3 separate regions of the Homo sapiens genome follow, and all the other regions are linked to region 3. Evidence: promoter capture Hi-C in 16 types of primary human blood cells and fetal thymus (Javierre and others, 2016). All regions are on one chromosome and are shown on one strand. The core of a region is centred on a gene start or on the middle of the fragment in contact, and the rest is flanking DNA. Distances in the headings are between cores, read along the strand shown.

Evidence for each region. Contacts are between HindIII fragments. The CHiCAGO score rates a contact against its expected background, and 5 or more counts as called.
Region 1: a contact is called between a fragment that was not itself captured here and the fragment with the promoter of TAS2R38 in region 3, in 3 of 17 cell types (naive B cells, M1 macrophages and total B cells). The highest score is 6.4, in naive B cells.
Region 2: a fragment that was not itself captured here is called in contact with the fragment with the promoter of TAS2R38 in region 3 in 1 of 17 cell types (erythroblasts); the score reaches 5.2 in erythroblasts.

The regions. Positions count from the first base shown.
Region 1 is chr7:142,384,174-142,388,735 of GRCh38, reverse strand. It overlaps TRB, TRBV7-3 and the pseudogene TRBV8-2. Among named protein-coding and RNA genes, the nearest start is that of MIR11400, 88 kb to the left of the region's middle. The HindIII fragment of the contact is 1,038 bases long and covers 2,237-3,274 here.
Region 2 is chr7:142,367,563-142,372,280 of GRCh38, reverse strand. It overlaps TRB. Among named protein-coding and RNA genes, the nearest start is that of MIR11400, 100 kb to the left of the region's middle. The HindIII fragment of the contact is 1,764 bases long and covers 1,561-3,324 here.
Region 3 is chr7:141,972,521-141,977,291 of GRCh38, reverse strand. TAS2R38 (taste 2 receptor member 38) reads left to right here and starts at 3,519. Exons shown (of 1, transcript NM_176817.5): 1 at 3,519-4,661. The coding sequence starts at 3,603. The coding sequence ends at 4,604. The HindIII fragment of the contact is 7,298 bases long and covers 1,422-4,771 here.

The DNA.
Region 1 (4,562 bases), core at 1,506-4,005, 410 kb before region 3:
TTTCCAGCCCCTCCCTTGAGTGGCCAGTGGTGCAAAGTCCCCAAGATTTAGTCTATCTGATCAGATCCAAAGCAGACCTTGGTTGTCTGTAAATTATTAAGAGTACAGATTCCCCAGAAATAATACTAGGGCTTTATCAGCTCACAGCACAGACCTAGCCAGACAGTTTGGGATTCAGCACCCTCAAGGCCATCTTATGCGTAGTGATCTGGATAATTTACGTTAATTTCTCCAGATCCACCCTGCCTTCAGAGGCTGACCTCAGTGTATTATGTTAACTGGCTCTCTTCTTCTCTAACTCCAGAGTGAGTTTGGCTAATGGGAGACAATGGCAGGAGAGTAGAGGGAGGTAGGGGCACCACTTGTTCTGATTCATCTATGCCCTGGCTATCCTCTTGCTTCATTATTTTATATAGGTTACTTTTCCCTACCAAAGTCCACAGCACCTTATAGGCAGCCTTGCCTTAGAGCTACAGTACCTGATGCTTTGGGATCCACATCCTCTCCTACTTATTTCAGGCCAATGTGAATAAGAGCCACAGATTCTGCTGTTCTTAGGCTACTTCTACTTCTCTTACTGGGTTCCCTTAACCCTGCCACACCTTTGCAAATACTCCTTTTGTCCCTCCTTGATATCTCCAGGACCACGACTAATAGACACAGCAATGGAAAGGTGAGTCCAGGTATTTTATTTTGCCTTAAGAGTCAACACAATTTCTAACATTCTGCCATTAGAAGTAATACAATTTCTAATATCCTGCAATGAGCATTGCTAAAAGAGTCAGGAGAACCATGAGAAATATGCATATGAAAATAAACCATGTGACAGGGGACATAGAATCCAAAGAGATTCCAGCAGAGAATCAAAGTGCACGCTCACCTACTCTGACCTCTCCCCATAAAAGATGAGAGTCATATACAAATAGATGCTTGTATTCTGTACAGTCCTATTTAGAAATGCACCACATAAAATAAGAATAAGACAGGAACACACTCATGACCACAAAAAATACAGAGAATGTGAGACGTGCTTCTTGCTGAGATACACAACAATCAAATTTAGTATCAAAGTGAGCTGGACTGATAAGAGGCTAAGACACAACTGAGGATCGATGGCTGAAAGAAAGCTATAGACAAAGAAAAAAATGCTCACTCGCTGTTGAAGTTATACCAAGAACCATGAACTGTCATCAGTCTCATATATTAGCCTTTCATTTTGACTTTCAGCAGATTGGCCAATTGGTGAATTCATTTTTTTGCCAAGCAAGCAACCAGCTCCCTTTTGCACCGGGATATGCGCTTCTCCCTTTAGGTGCTAAAGAGGACTACAGGCTACAGGAAAATAAAATGTGTGTTCTATATTATTTTATAATATTTTACAAGAAAAACAAGTTAAGGAACTCATGGATTCTAATCCAAGCCACAGTGATGGTAAGAATTAAGTTCCTTCCTTCATCTATCCTCAGAGGACCTCAAACAGGTACTCAGTAAGAGTCTTACAATCTCTTTGATAATTCTACTAGCTGATTATCTTCAGGTCTAATGGCAGAGTTTGTTGTATTTATTAACATTCTCCCTAACTGGATTGTTCTCTTGTGTGTTTATAACTTTATAACAAAAAAAATGGATTTTCTTGTCCTCCACAGAACACATGCTTGGTATCTAAAGGAACCAAAGCCAAGGTGATGTTATGTATGCTACCTGAGAATCCCAGATCACTCAAGCAGGCTAAAGCTTCCCAGCTGCTTTCTGCTTTTTTCTTCTCTCCTGAAAAGAAAGTGAAATATGAATTTCTTGTTAGAAGCTACCATTCCTTTGCACAATTACCAGAATATTCCAAATTGAGCAAAATAACATTACGTTGTTTGCATTTACACATCCGCACTACAGTGACAGACCCAGCTCACTCTAAGTTTTATGCTGCAGGAGCACACATAGAATGAGATCCCATTGCTGGGAAGTCTGGGAAGAGCTTCAGAAAGGGCAGCTTTTTCTTCTGGTTGAGACACGGGCTTCCATAAGGAGTGCCCACCTCCAGCCTGTGACTGCCCTTTTTGTGCAGAGGGCAGCTGGCTGTGCAGGGCTGCGGATGTGCTGCCACAGTGGTACAGATAGGTCTGGCTGGTGCTGGTGGATGCCAGGATTGGGGAAATGCTCAAGCTTGTTTCAAGAGACACAGTACCCCTCTGTGACATCAACTTTGGTCCTGCTGTGACCACTGCCTGAATAGTGGATAAGCTTCAGCCCCCGTCTTGGGTCTTGTCGATATCAGAACACTGTTCCTAACCTGAGCACATTCCAGGATCATCTCTTTCTTCTGTACAATGTGATATCTTGGCATCTGGGTGATCCCAGCATCAATAGAGCCTGCTGGAGAGGCAGACAGAAAGTGAAGACAAGACTTAAGAAATAGGGGGACTCTGCAGAAGAAAGGACAAAAAAGGCTTGTAGCCCAGACATTGCAAACCCATGACAGGGTTTTGCAGCTGTTTCCAGAACTTATCTGCTCCCAGGAGACAAAGGGTCACACAGAAGAGTTTGGGGTTCATGGTAGGGTCAGAGTGAGGAGGGGCTGGCCCAACTAAGTGCAGTGATCCTCAGGACTGTGAGCTGGGGCTCGGAGGCTGCTCCCTAGGGAATAGTCTGGTGGGCCTGTGGTGTCACCCCCCATGCCTACGGAGTCCAGCTGGTCCAGGGCCTTCTGACTGGTCTCAGGCAGGATCCACCTCCTCTCATGAAGGCTGTTGCCCGGCGAGGTCTGCAGGGAAGATGGGGTGCAGCAGAGACATACTGAGCTTAGGGCACAGCCCGCCCCTAGCTTTCCCACGTTCCTTTGAGGCAGTTGCTCCTCTGCTTGCACCTGCGCTTGACACCAAGGCTGCCAGGCCAAAATTCTTCAACTGTGGATCTCATTAAAGATTAGAGGTATTTCCTGCATCTTGCATAGCTGTAGGTAGCCTAGCAATGACTGAAAACTGCTGCAACATCTGCATAATATTGGATTCCAGCCCTAATTTTTCTTAACCCTTCCCTTCCTAGGCTGCTCTCCCAGGCTCTCCCCAGAGTCCCTTAGATCCCAGTGGACCACAGTGCCATCTTGTGGCCAATACGTGAAGTTTCATCATTGCTTTTGCAATGGCCCAAGGGATGCTGGGAAGTGTCTGCAGAGTGAGTGAGAGACTATTCTAGAAGTGTCATCCTGCAGGTTTTATGAGCAACTTCCCTAAACCCTGATTCCAACACTAGTTCTAACCCTGACTATTGCTTTACTCAAAGCTTAATATCCCACCCTCATTCTAAATAACTCTTATCACATAGCTGCAGTTAGAGTCTAATTAATATTTTCTCCCTTAAAACTATCATATAAAGGGAGTGGGATAGAATGGGAGGAATGGAAGAAAATTGGATTTACTCTTAAGTAGGCAGAACATACAGGAATTGAAGTGCATAGTTATTTCATTTCATTACCAAAGATGAAATACATGTCCCCCAAAATAACAATCAATGTTACCATAAACATAAAGATTAGCAAAAGATTAGGATGATAATGAGATTGCCTTCAAGATGGCATCAAATACGTATTAATAAAAAGTAAAATTTGAATGTAAAAAGTAGGATCTTTTGTAGGCAACAAGTAATCTTGAAGGGAGCAGTATCCAATGTGGAAAATAAGGATGGATAATGAAGACCAGCAACGAGCCTTCCACAGAAAATGATTAACATATACAACGCACATCTGCTGATCTGAGCAGCGGACATGCAAGCAATGATTCTGGAAGAGGCAGTGGAGTGGTGTGAGATGAGGATCCCCTGGTGCAAAATAGTATCATAAGGAAGCAAGGAGAGAGAGGAGGAGGTTTATGAGCAGGAAGGAGGCGATTGTGTCATGCTGTGGTTAAGCTGCTGGCACGGAGATACGCGGCTGAGTCCCCCTGCTCTGTGCGCTGGATCTTCAGAGTAGAGACGGATCCCTCAGGCCTGACTGCAAAGAACCGATCTTTGGGCAGCCCTGAGTCATCTGCCGCACCCGTGCCTTGGAAGTAAATTAGAAACTCTGGGCCCTGCCCCAGGCTTTGTCGGTACCAGTAAAGGGCAGTATGACCTGAAATTGGATCACACCTGAGCTCTACATCTTTTCCCTTCTCTGTGACCTTGTTACTGGGGGTCTGGGAGACTCCAGCACCTGTGTGATCTGCGGAGACACAAGTTGAGAACAGGATGAGGAAAACAGTTGTACTCATCACACACACACACACACACACACATACAGACACACAGAATGAGACTGGTTGGTGTCTGAGGACTCACCTGCCCCCAGGAGGCACAGGGCTGCCCAGCAGAGGAGCCTGGTGCCCATGACAGAGTCAGGGCAGGATGGGAGCTTTACCAGATCAGGGTCACTGTGAGCAGGAGCAGAGGAGGAGGGACGTCCTTGTCCTGACACAGAACAGTACCCACAGTGACATCACTTCCTCTCTCAATCCCCACAACCTCAGGAACACAGGATTTATATTAGAACACACTTGGATGACTGCTTTAGATATTTATTAGCTCCCTTTAAA
Region 2 (4,718 bases), core at 1,193-3,692, 400 kb before region 3:
AGGGGATGAGTAAGGGCAGAAGCTTCTGTGATGAGGCAGTTGCTTCTCTGACTGCACTGCCCTCAGCACTCAGACTGCCTCATCGCCCTCTCAGCCTCCTCCCCACCTACTGCTGCAGTGCTCCATTCTGGAACTCACAGACCTGCCCGTCAGCTGAGAGTTAGTGGCCTGTAATTAAATCTTCATGTTCCAGATCTTCCTGGCTGTCCTCTCATCATATGTCTGACACCAAATTCAAACCAAGGTTTCTCCTTATATTTTCCTTTCCTGGACAACAATCCCAGCTCCTCCCCTGTGTGCGCAGTGATGTCAAGTCCCCAAGATTTTGTCCATCTGATCAAGTCCAAAGTGGATCTGTGTTGTCTGTAAATTATTAGGAGTATAGATTCCCCATAAATAATTCTGGGGCTTTATCAGCTCACAGCACAGACCTAACCACTTGGGATTCAGCACCCACAAGGCCACCCTATGAGTCATCCTCTGGGCAGGTTATGTTTATCCCTCCAGATCCATCCTGCCTTCAGAGGTTGATGCCAATGGATTATAGTAACTGCATCTCTTTTTGTGTACTCCAGAGTGAGTTTGTCTTATGAGAGACAATGGCAGGAGAGTAGAGAGAGAGAGGGTAACCAACTGTCCCGGTTTGTGTGTCTCCTGGCTGCCTCCTTGCTGGACTATTTCATATTGATTGCTTTTCTCTACCAAAGGTCACAGCACCCTACAAACATCCTTACCCCAAATGTAAAATGTCAAAAGCCCCGAGATCCACACACTCTCCTACTTATTTTAGGCCAATGTGAATAAGAGCACTCACTATACTATCCCCATAATCCTTTCTCTTCTCTTACTGGGTTCCTTAACCTTGCCACAGTTTTGTAAATTGTCTTTTCATCCCTCCTCAATACCTCCAGGACCATGGTTAATAGACATAGCAATGGAAAAGTGAGTCTTGGAGATCTTATTTTGCTTTAACAAAATAATACAAGTTCTAACATTCTGCAATTAGAAATAATACAATTTCTCACTCTTTGCAAATAGCAGTAACAAAAATTCTATCACATGCAATTAGCATTACCAAAAGAGTTGGGAGAAGCATTAAAATATGCAGTATGAAAATAAATAGTATGACTTGAGTACATGGAATCTAAAGAGGTTCTAGTAGAGAATCATGATGCATGCTCACCTCCTCTTACCTAGAAGTCTGTGGCAGGGTGGATCTACTTCATAAACATAGTGGACACTGTGATGCTTCATTGAGAACCCATTTTCAGACCCATTGCCACATCCCTTTAGAGTTGAGCCCCACACTGGGTTCCCGTCCACAAGAACCATCTTCACTCAAGGTGACACCTTCACACAGTAGAAAAACTGTGTTAATTGCAGAGATGCAAGGTCCAGCATGTCCTAACAAGATGTGCCTTTGGCTTAAGAGGCAAGAAGAGAAGAATTAGGGACTGGAAAAAAGTCTTAAATATTTGAAACAATATTTGAGGAGGGTGAAAGACTGAGCTAGTAAAAGGACCATACTATAATCTCAAAGCAGGGATATAAAGGCAGGTAAGCTTAGTGACTATGTATTTATCATGATAACAGTTTGTGCCGGTGTGACTTACTCTGACAGCATTCAGCTTCTGCCATGCCAAAGAGATCAGTGCATTTATTCTTGTTTATTTTTGTAAATGAAAGGGAAGCCTAAGAGTATCAATATAAAATAATAACTATTTGCAAGCTAGGATTTTTAACACGTAACATCCTCATATCTGCTCTAGAATGAGTAAAGAAATTCTGTAGGGACCCTAGGAAATAGAAAGAATATTTACCAGTGGAGAGGAGATGTCAATAATATCAAAGAACAGGTATGATAGGATAAGAAGCTGTAGGCAGATAGTGGAATATTTAATTTGTGATTTTGGAGATTTAGCATTTTCAAGTGATGACAAAGAAAAAGGGATGGGGCTACTAATGAGGAGGAGTAGAGTAAGTAACAGAATGGAACAACTCATAATTCTGTTATAGGCAAGATATCCTTGAAATGCAAAGAGTAGTCACTGTAAAAGGAAAAATATATATGAATTAAACTTCAAAAAATAGAAAATTTCAGTTCATGAGAAGACTCTATTCAGAAAGTACAAAGGCAGGCCACTCTGGGAGAAGACTAACTCAATATATTTAATGGTCAAAAGGTTTATATAAAAAATACAAACATATTATACGTATTAGTAATATAAGAACAAACAACGTAAGATTTTAAAACAGGCAAATTTAAAAGCAGACACTTGAAAAAAGGAGATAGAAATTACTAATGAAAACAGAAAAAAATGTAAATATAATTACTTATAGAAAAATGCATAGAGATATCACTACAGACCCAATAGAATGATTAAGAAGAAGGTAGAACATGATGGCCAAATAGAAGCCTTCGTTAACTGTTCCTCCAAACAAGAACATCAAACTGAACAACTATCCACACAAAATAGCACCTTCATAAGAACCAAAAATCAACTAAGTGACCACAGTACCTGGTTTTAACTTCATATCACTGAAAGAGGCACTAAAGAGGTAGAAAAGACACTCTTGAATTGCCAATACCATGCCTCCCCCATCCCCTGGCAGTGGCCATATGGCTTGGAGAGACAGTCTGTGCATTTGGGTTAGGGAGAGTGCAGTGACTGTGGGACTTTGTGTTGGAAGTCGTTGCTGTCCTCACACAGTGGATAGCAACAGCAGGCAGGACTCAGCCAGCACTCATGGAAGAACATTTAGACCAGCCCTAGTCAGAGGGGAATCACTTATCCCAGCAGTCAGAACCTGAGTTCTGGCTAGCCTCGCTACCATGGGCTAAAGTGCCTTAGGGTCCTAAATAAACTTGAAACACAGTCCAGGCCACAAGGACTACAATTCCTGGGCAAGTCTTGGTGCTGTGCTGAACTCAGAGTCAGTGGACTTGGGGACACATGACCTAGTGAGATACCAGCTGGGGTGGCCAAGAAATTGCTTATGCCACCCCATCCCCAACCTCAGGCAGCACAGCCCACAGCTCCAGGTGAGACTCCTTTGGATATAGTTTGGATATTTGTCCCCACCCAAATCTCATGTTGAATTGTAATCCCCATGCTGGTGAGGGGTGTTTGTATCACGGGGGCAGATCCCTTATGGCTTGATGCTGTCCTCAGAATAGAGAATGAATTATTGTGAGATCTGGTCATTTAAAAGTATGTTTTAAATGACCTTCCCTCCCTCCCCCACACACTCTCTTTCTCTCTCTTGTTCCTGTTTTCACCATGTAATGTGCCTGCCTCCCCTTTTCTTTCTTCCATGATTGTAAGCTTTTGAGACTACACCAGAAGCAGATGCTGGTGTTATGCCTTCTGTACGGCCTGAAAAACCATGAGCCTATTAAACCATTTTTCTTGTAAATGACCTAGTCTCAGGTATTTCTTTACAGCAATGCAAGAATGGCCTAATTCAGAAAATTGATACAAGAAGTTGGGTATTGTTATAAAAATAACTGAAAATGTGTAAGCAGCTTTGGAACTGGGTAATGGGCAAAAGTTGGAAGAGTTTAGAGGGCTCAGAAGAAGACAGGAATATGATGGAAAGTTTGGAATTTCTGAGAGACTGGTTAAATGGTTGTGACCAAAATGCTGATAGTGATATGGAAAGTGAAGTCCAGGCTGTTGAGGTCTTAGATGGAAATGAGAAACTTATTGGGAACTGGGGCAAAGGTCACACATGTTATGCCTTAGCAAAGAACTTGGGTGCATTTTGCCTCTGCCCTAGGAATCTGTGGAAGTTTGAACTTGCGAGTGATGACCTAGTGTATCTGGTGGAAGAAATTTATAAGCAGCAAAGTGTTGAAGATGTGGCCTGGCTGCTTCTAACAGCCTACACTCAGATGTGAGAGCAAAGAAAACACTGAAAGCTGGAATGTATATTTAAACAGGAAGCAGAGTGTAAAAGTTTGGAAAATTTGCAGCCTAACCATGTGGCAAATAAAGAAAATGTTGTGGGAGAAGAATTCAAGCAGGCTGTGGAGCTACCACTTGTTAGAGATATTAACATAGTTAAAAAAGAGCCAAGTGCTAATAGCAAAGACTTTGGGAAAATTGCCTGAAGACAATTCAGAAATCTTCCAGGCAGTACCTCCCATCACCAGCCCTGAAGCCTAGGAGGAGTGAATAGTTTTGTGTGCCAGGCCCAGGGTCCTGCTGCTCTGCCCAGCCTCAGAACACATCGGCCTGCATCCCAGCTGCTCCAGCTCCAGCTGTGGCTCAAAGGGGCCCAGATACAGCTTGAGTTGCCACTTTGGAGAATGCAAGCTATAGCCTTGGTGGCTTCCATGTGGTGTCAAGCCTACAGGTGTACATAATGCAAGAATCAAGAAAGCTTGGCAGCCTTCATCTAGATTTCAGAGAATTATGGAAAATCTTTGGTGATCAGGCAGAAGCCTGCTGCAAGGGTGGAAACCTTACAGAGAATCTCTATTAGGGAAATGCAGAGAGGAAATTAGAGGTTGGAGGCCCCATACAGAATCCCACTGGGGCATTGCCTAGTGGAGTTTTGGAAAGGGGACAACTGCCCTCCAGACCCCAGATCGATATTGTCACTGACAGCTTGCACCCTGTGCCTGGACAAGCCAAAACACCCAACAACATGTGAAAGCAACCCTGGGGGCTGAACTCTGGAAAGCCACAGACGAAGAACTCCCAAGACCTTGG
Region 3 (4,771 bases), core at 2,270-4,769:
TACAGGCGTGAGCCACCGCGCCCAGCCACAAATACATATTTTAATACATATGGTAAGTGCTACAATAGTGCTGTGAACAAAGTATAATGGAAGCAAAGAAGATATAGGAAGCCTGTAGGAAGGGAGTAAAGGAAGACATCATCCCAGATCCACCTGAAAAATTCTGAAGAATTTCCTTTTATGCTCTAGGGCTCTAACTTATGAATAGCTATGTTAACCTGTTGCATACATCGACACGTTCTTTCAACGAGCCTAGCGAAATTTTCCCCATTCCTTTCCCTTACCAGAACAGTGGCCTCCTGAGATATAAACCTATCCAGACTCAATTTTTCTCTATCTCCTGGGAATGGAATGAGCTATCATCTTGAGGGAGTCCACAAGGGCAACTGCACTCCCCCTGCCCACGCAAAAAAAAAAGAAAAAAAGAGTAAGAAAAAAGCTCAGATAGGGCTGAGGTTGGGGAAAAAAAAAAATGTTACCAGGTGTCTTATCAAAGCAAGGGTATCTCCTCCAGCCCGTACTCTAGATTGGGAGTTAGGCTCAGAGGAAGAAACGCCAAAGGTGAAATCAGAATACCTGCGGTTGGAATCCCAGCTGCTCACTAGGTTACTTACCTTGGCCAAGATATTTAACTATTTAACTTTCCTGAAACCACTTTCTCATCAGTACAATGGAAATATCACTACATTCTTCGCAGGGCAACTGTGAGATTCAAGGAAATTCAGCCTATCATAACGCAGTAAGTGGAGTCTAAAATTTCAGTTGCGTGAGATACGGAACCCCATTATTGCTAGATTTAAACGGCTGAGGTGAGGATGCACTGCGAGCCTGCCAGGAATTCCAGGCCTCGCAGTGTTCTGGCGCCACCTGGTGGGAGCTGTTAAATAGCGATGGGGGAGGACTCGGTTGCTGGGGAGCTGGAGCTTCCTGGAAAAGCTGGAGTCCATTGCTTTGCCCGATTATTTGGGGAGATTGGAGGTGCAGAGACTCCTCCTAGGTCTGTTGTTTCCCACCTGTCTCGCTGTCCTAGGAATTCCGGCAGGGGGAGAACAGGAGATAGCCAATCACGGGGGAAGAATGGGAGATAGCCAATCACTAGTTACTTTATATTGTAATCACACGGTAGTGGAAGAAGTCGCCCTCCAGCCTCACCTGTGGCTACAAGCCAGCCACGCGGGCCTCCCCTCTCCCCGTGAAAGCACCGAGCTCCTTCCTGCCTCATCGACTTCCTGGGTGCCATTTCATCTGTTTTGAGTGCTGTTGATGATGGCCACTGCCAGTGTTTCCTATTGACACTACCCCAATTGTATGTTTCCTGTCCGTTGTCTCTCCCCCAACATTGTTTCTTTCAGTTCACTCCGCTATCTGAAGTCATCTAGTGGTGTTTTTCCTCTAAAGTAAGGTATGGCTTACTTTAAGCTTTATGGCTTTAAGGCTGTGCTCTTTCAGTTCCTCTAATACGCCTTTGTTTACCAGTGTGTCCTCAATGCCCATTACAACAGGTGGAATATATTTTGCTCTTAATAAACATATATTGGTATGTCCATTTCTCTAGTCATTGGAAACATCTAAGCAAGGTATTTTAAGGGAATGAGGTTTGATATTACTAATAATAGTGTTCTTCTGTCAAGCTAACAAAGACCAATTTTTAAAAATCAATCCAAAGAATGTAATTCCAATCTCCAAAAATAAATGGCAGCAAAAGTCGAAACACCAATTTATATAGGTTAAGAATTTTTAACATCTGTTTAGTTGCAAAATCCAGGGACTAAGATTTTTTTAATTACATCTGATAAAGATGTAGTCACTGACTTATATCACTACTAATAACAAATAAGGAGCTTTTGTGTTCCTACCACTGCTCTTACTGGCATTGCAGTTGACTTTACTGTTTTTAGCTTCCTGAGTAAACCATTTTTCAAAAAATAGCCAATAGCTAAGGACTATCTGCAAAGGAGATTACTTAGATAATCCCAAACACTGTGTGTACATAAGTCAAATGGAGGGGGTGTATCAATGAAGGTTTGTGTTACCTTTCTCTGAAAGAGCCCTTGATTATTGAAAAATTAAGATTGGATCTGGTGTTCCAAGAAATAACATAAAGAACTTTATTTTTTAATAAAAGATTATAATCTTGATATAAATGGTTCTAACTGTATAGTTATATATCTCTGCTTGTGCAGTAGAGCAAGTTTCTACCTAGACTTTTTAGGGAGGCAAACATCTTTTCTAAACACCTTTAGTGCAACACCGCCACCTGGTGTGGTGAAGACAAGGAGAAAATTAGCTTAAGTTGAAAGTGCAGAATTCTGTGTTTGACACTCTGTAAGCATGAATGACCCAAATGAAGTGGTCACAAACACAATTAATTAAATACAACTGCTACATCATGATGCACAAATAAGGACTACATAAATATCTGCGTATGAACAGTTCAGAATAAAACAAAAGTGAACATCTTTAGTAATCACTGACTTATGTCACTACTAATAATAAAAAAGGAGCTTTAGTCAAAAGAAAACATAAAAAATACAAAGAGAAAGTATCGAAAAACACCAATGGGGCAGCACCAATAACTCTTAAAGGATTTATCGGGGGAAATTCACTCATAAGTGGCAGTTGAACAATGAGAACACATGGACACAGGGAGGGGAACATCAAACACCAGGGCCTGTCAGGGGGTAGGGGGCAAGGGGAAGGAGACCATTAGGAGAAATACCTAATATAGATAACGGGTTGATGGGTGCAGCGAACCACCATGGCAGGTGTATGCCTATGTAACAAGCCTGCATGTTCTGCACATGTACCCCAGAACTTATACTAATTAAAAAATAAACATAATAATAATCCAAACCAGCTATGCCCCCTTTCCTCTCCCTTCATGACAGCGTGCTAGTCTTGTTCATGTTAATATTCTCCTTGCCAGGCACAGTGCCTGGCATAATAATGATGATTGCATGAAACCTTTGGCAACAGCAAATAAAACTGCAATCATACACTGACACATGGAAAGGAACCATGCATTTATCTATATTAAAAACACAGTCTGTGATAAGAGTCATTACTTCACAGATGAGAGAAGGAATGCAAATGAAAAGAGACTCTATTTCAAACCTTAGATCACCAAGAATATCTGCTTTGCCTGCTGCAGGGTGCCTCAAAACCCATAAGCAAATCCTGTTCTCTTCGCCACCCCCACAGGTCCAGATGGGCATGCAAAACTGGATTGGGGAAATTGAGGCCCTGTTTTGTTTGCATCCGTGATGCTGTGCTATGGCCTTCTGGGAAGGCGGTTGTACAGGAACACCTGGATTTATTAATCTTGCATCACCCAAGAGGTAGAACCATCAGTCTTCCACCCTATGATAAGCTCTTACGTGTATCCAAGAGATGTTCTAGAGAAACAACATCCCTCTAAGTTTCCTGCCAGAACTTTTTATGCGCTCGCTTTGGGATAGATCTAGGCAAAGAGCTGGATGCTTTGTGAAGGAAAGGTCCTGGCTTGGAACGTACATTTACCTTTCTGCACTGGGTGGCAACCAGGTCTTTAGATTAGCCAACTAGAGAAGAGAAGTAGAATAGCCAATTAGAGAAGTGACATCATGTTGACTCTAACTCGCATCCGCACTGTGTCCTATGAAGTCAGGAGTACATTTCTGTTCATTTCAGTCCTGGAGTTTGCAGTGGGGTTTCTGACCAATGCCTTCGTTTTCTTGGTGAATTTTTGGGATGTAGTGAAGAGGCAGGCACTGAGCAACAGTGATTGTGTGCTGCTGTGTCTCAGCATCAGCCGGCTTTTCCTGCATGGACTGCTGTTCCTGAGTGCTATCCAGCTTACCCACTTCCAGAAGTTGAGTGAACCACTGAACCACAGCTACCAAGCCATCATCATGCTATGGATGATTGCAAACCAAGCCAACCTCTGGCTTGCTGCCTGCCTCAGCCTGCTTTACTGCTCCAAGCTCATCCGTTTCTCTCACACCTTCCTGATCTGCTTGGCAAGCTGGGTCTCCAGGAAGATCTCCCAGATGCTCCTGGGTATTATTCTTTGCTCCTGCATCTGCACTGTCCTCTGTGTTTGGTGCTTTTTTAGCAGACCTCACTTCACAGTCACAACTGTGCTATTCATGAATAACAATACAAGGCTCAACTGGCAGATTAAAGATCTCAATTTATTTTATTCCTTTCTCTTCTGCTATCTGTGGTCTGTGCCTCCTTTCCTATTGTTTCTGGTTTCTTCTGGGATGCTGACTGTCTCCCTGGGAAGGCACATGAGGACAATGAAGGTCTATACCAGAAACTCTCGTGACCCCAGCCTGGAGGCCCACATTAAAGCCCTCAAGTCTCTTGTCTCCTTTTTCTGCTTCTTTGTGATATCATCCTGTGCTGCCTTCATCTCTGTGCCCCTACTGATTCTGTGGCGCGACAAAATAGGGGTGATGGTTTGTGTTGGGATAATGGCAGCTTGTCCCTCTGGGCATGCAGCCATCCTGATCTCAGGCAATGCCAAGTTGAGGAGAGCTGTGATGACCATTCTGCTCTGGGCTCAGAGCAGCCTGAAGGTAAGAGCCGACCACAAGGCAGATTCCCGGACACTGTGCTGAGAATGGACATGAAATGAGCTCTTCATTAATACGCCTGTGAGTCTTCATAAATATGCCTCTGATTCTTCAGGAATACAACTCTGATTCCTCACAAAGCCTTCCAATTTCTTCTATAAAACACAATTGAAAGTCTCTCCACTTTGTATCAATGAACTCACTTATAGATG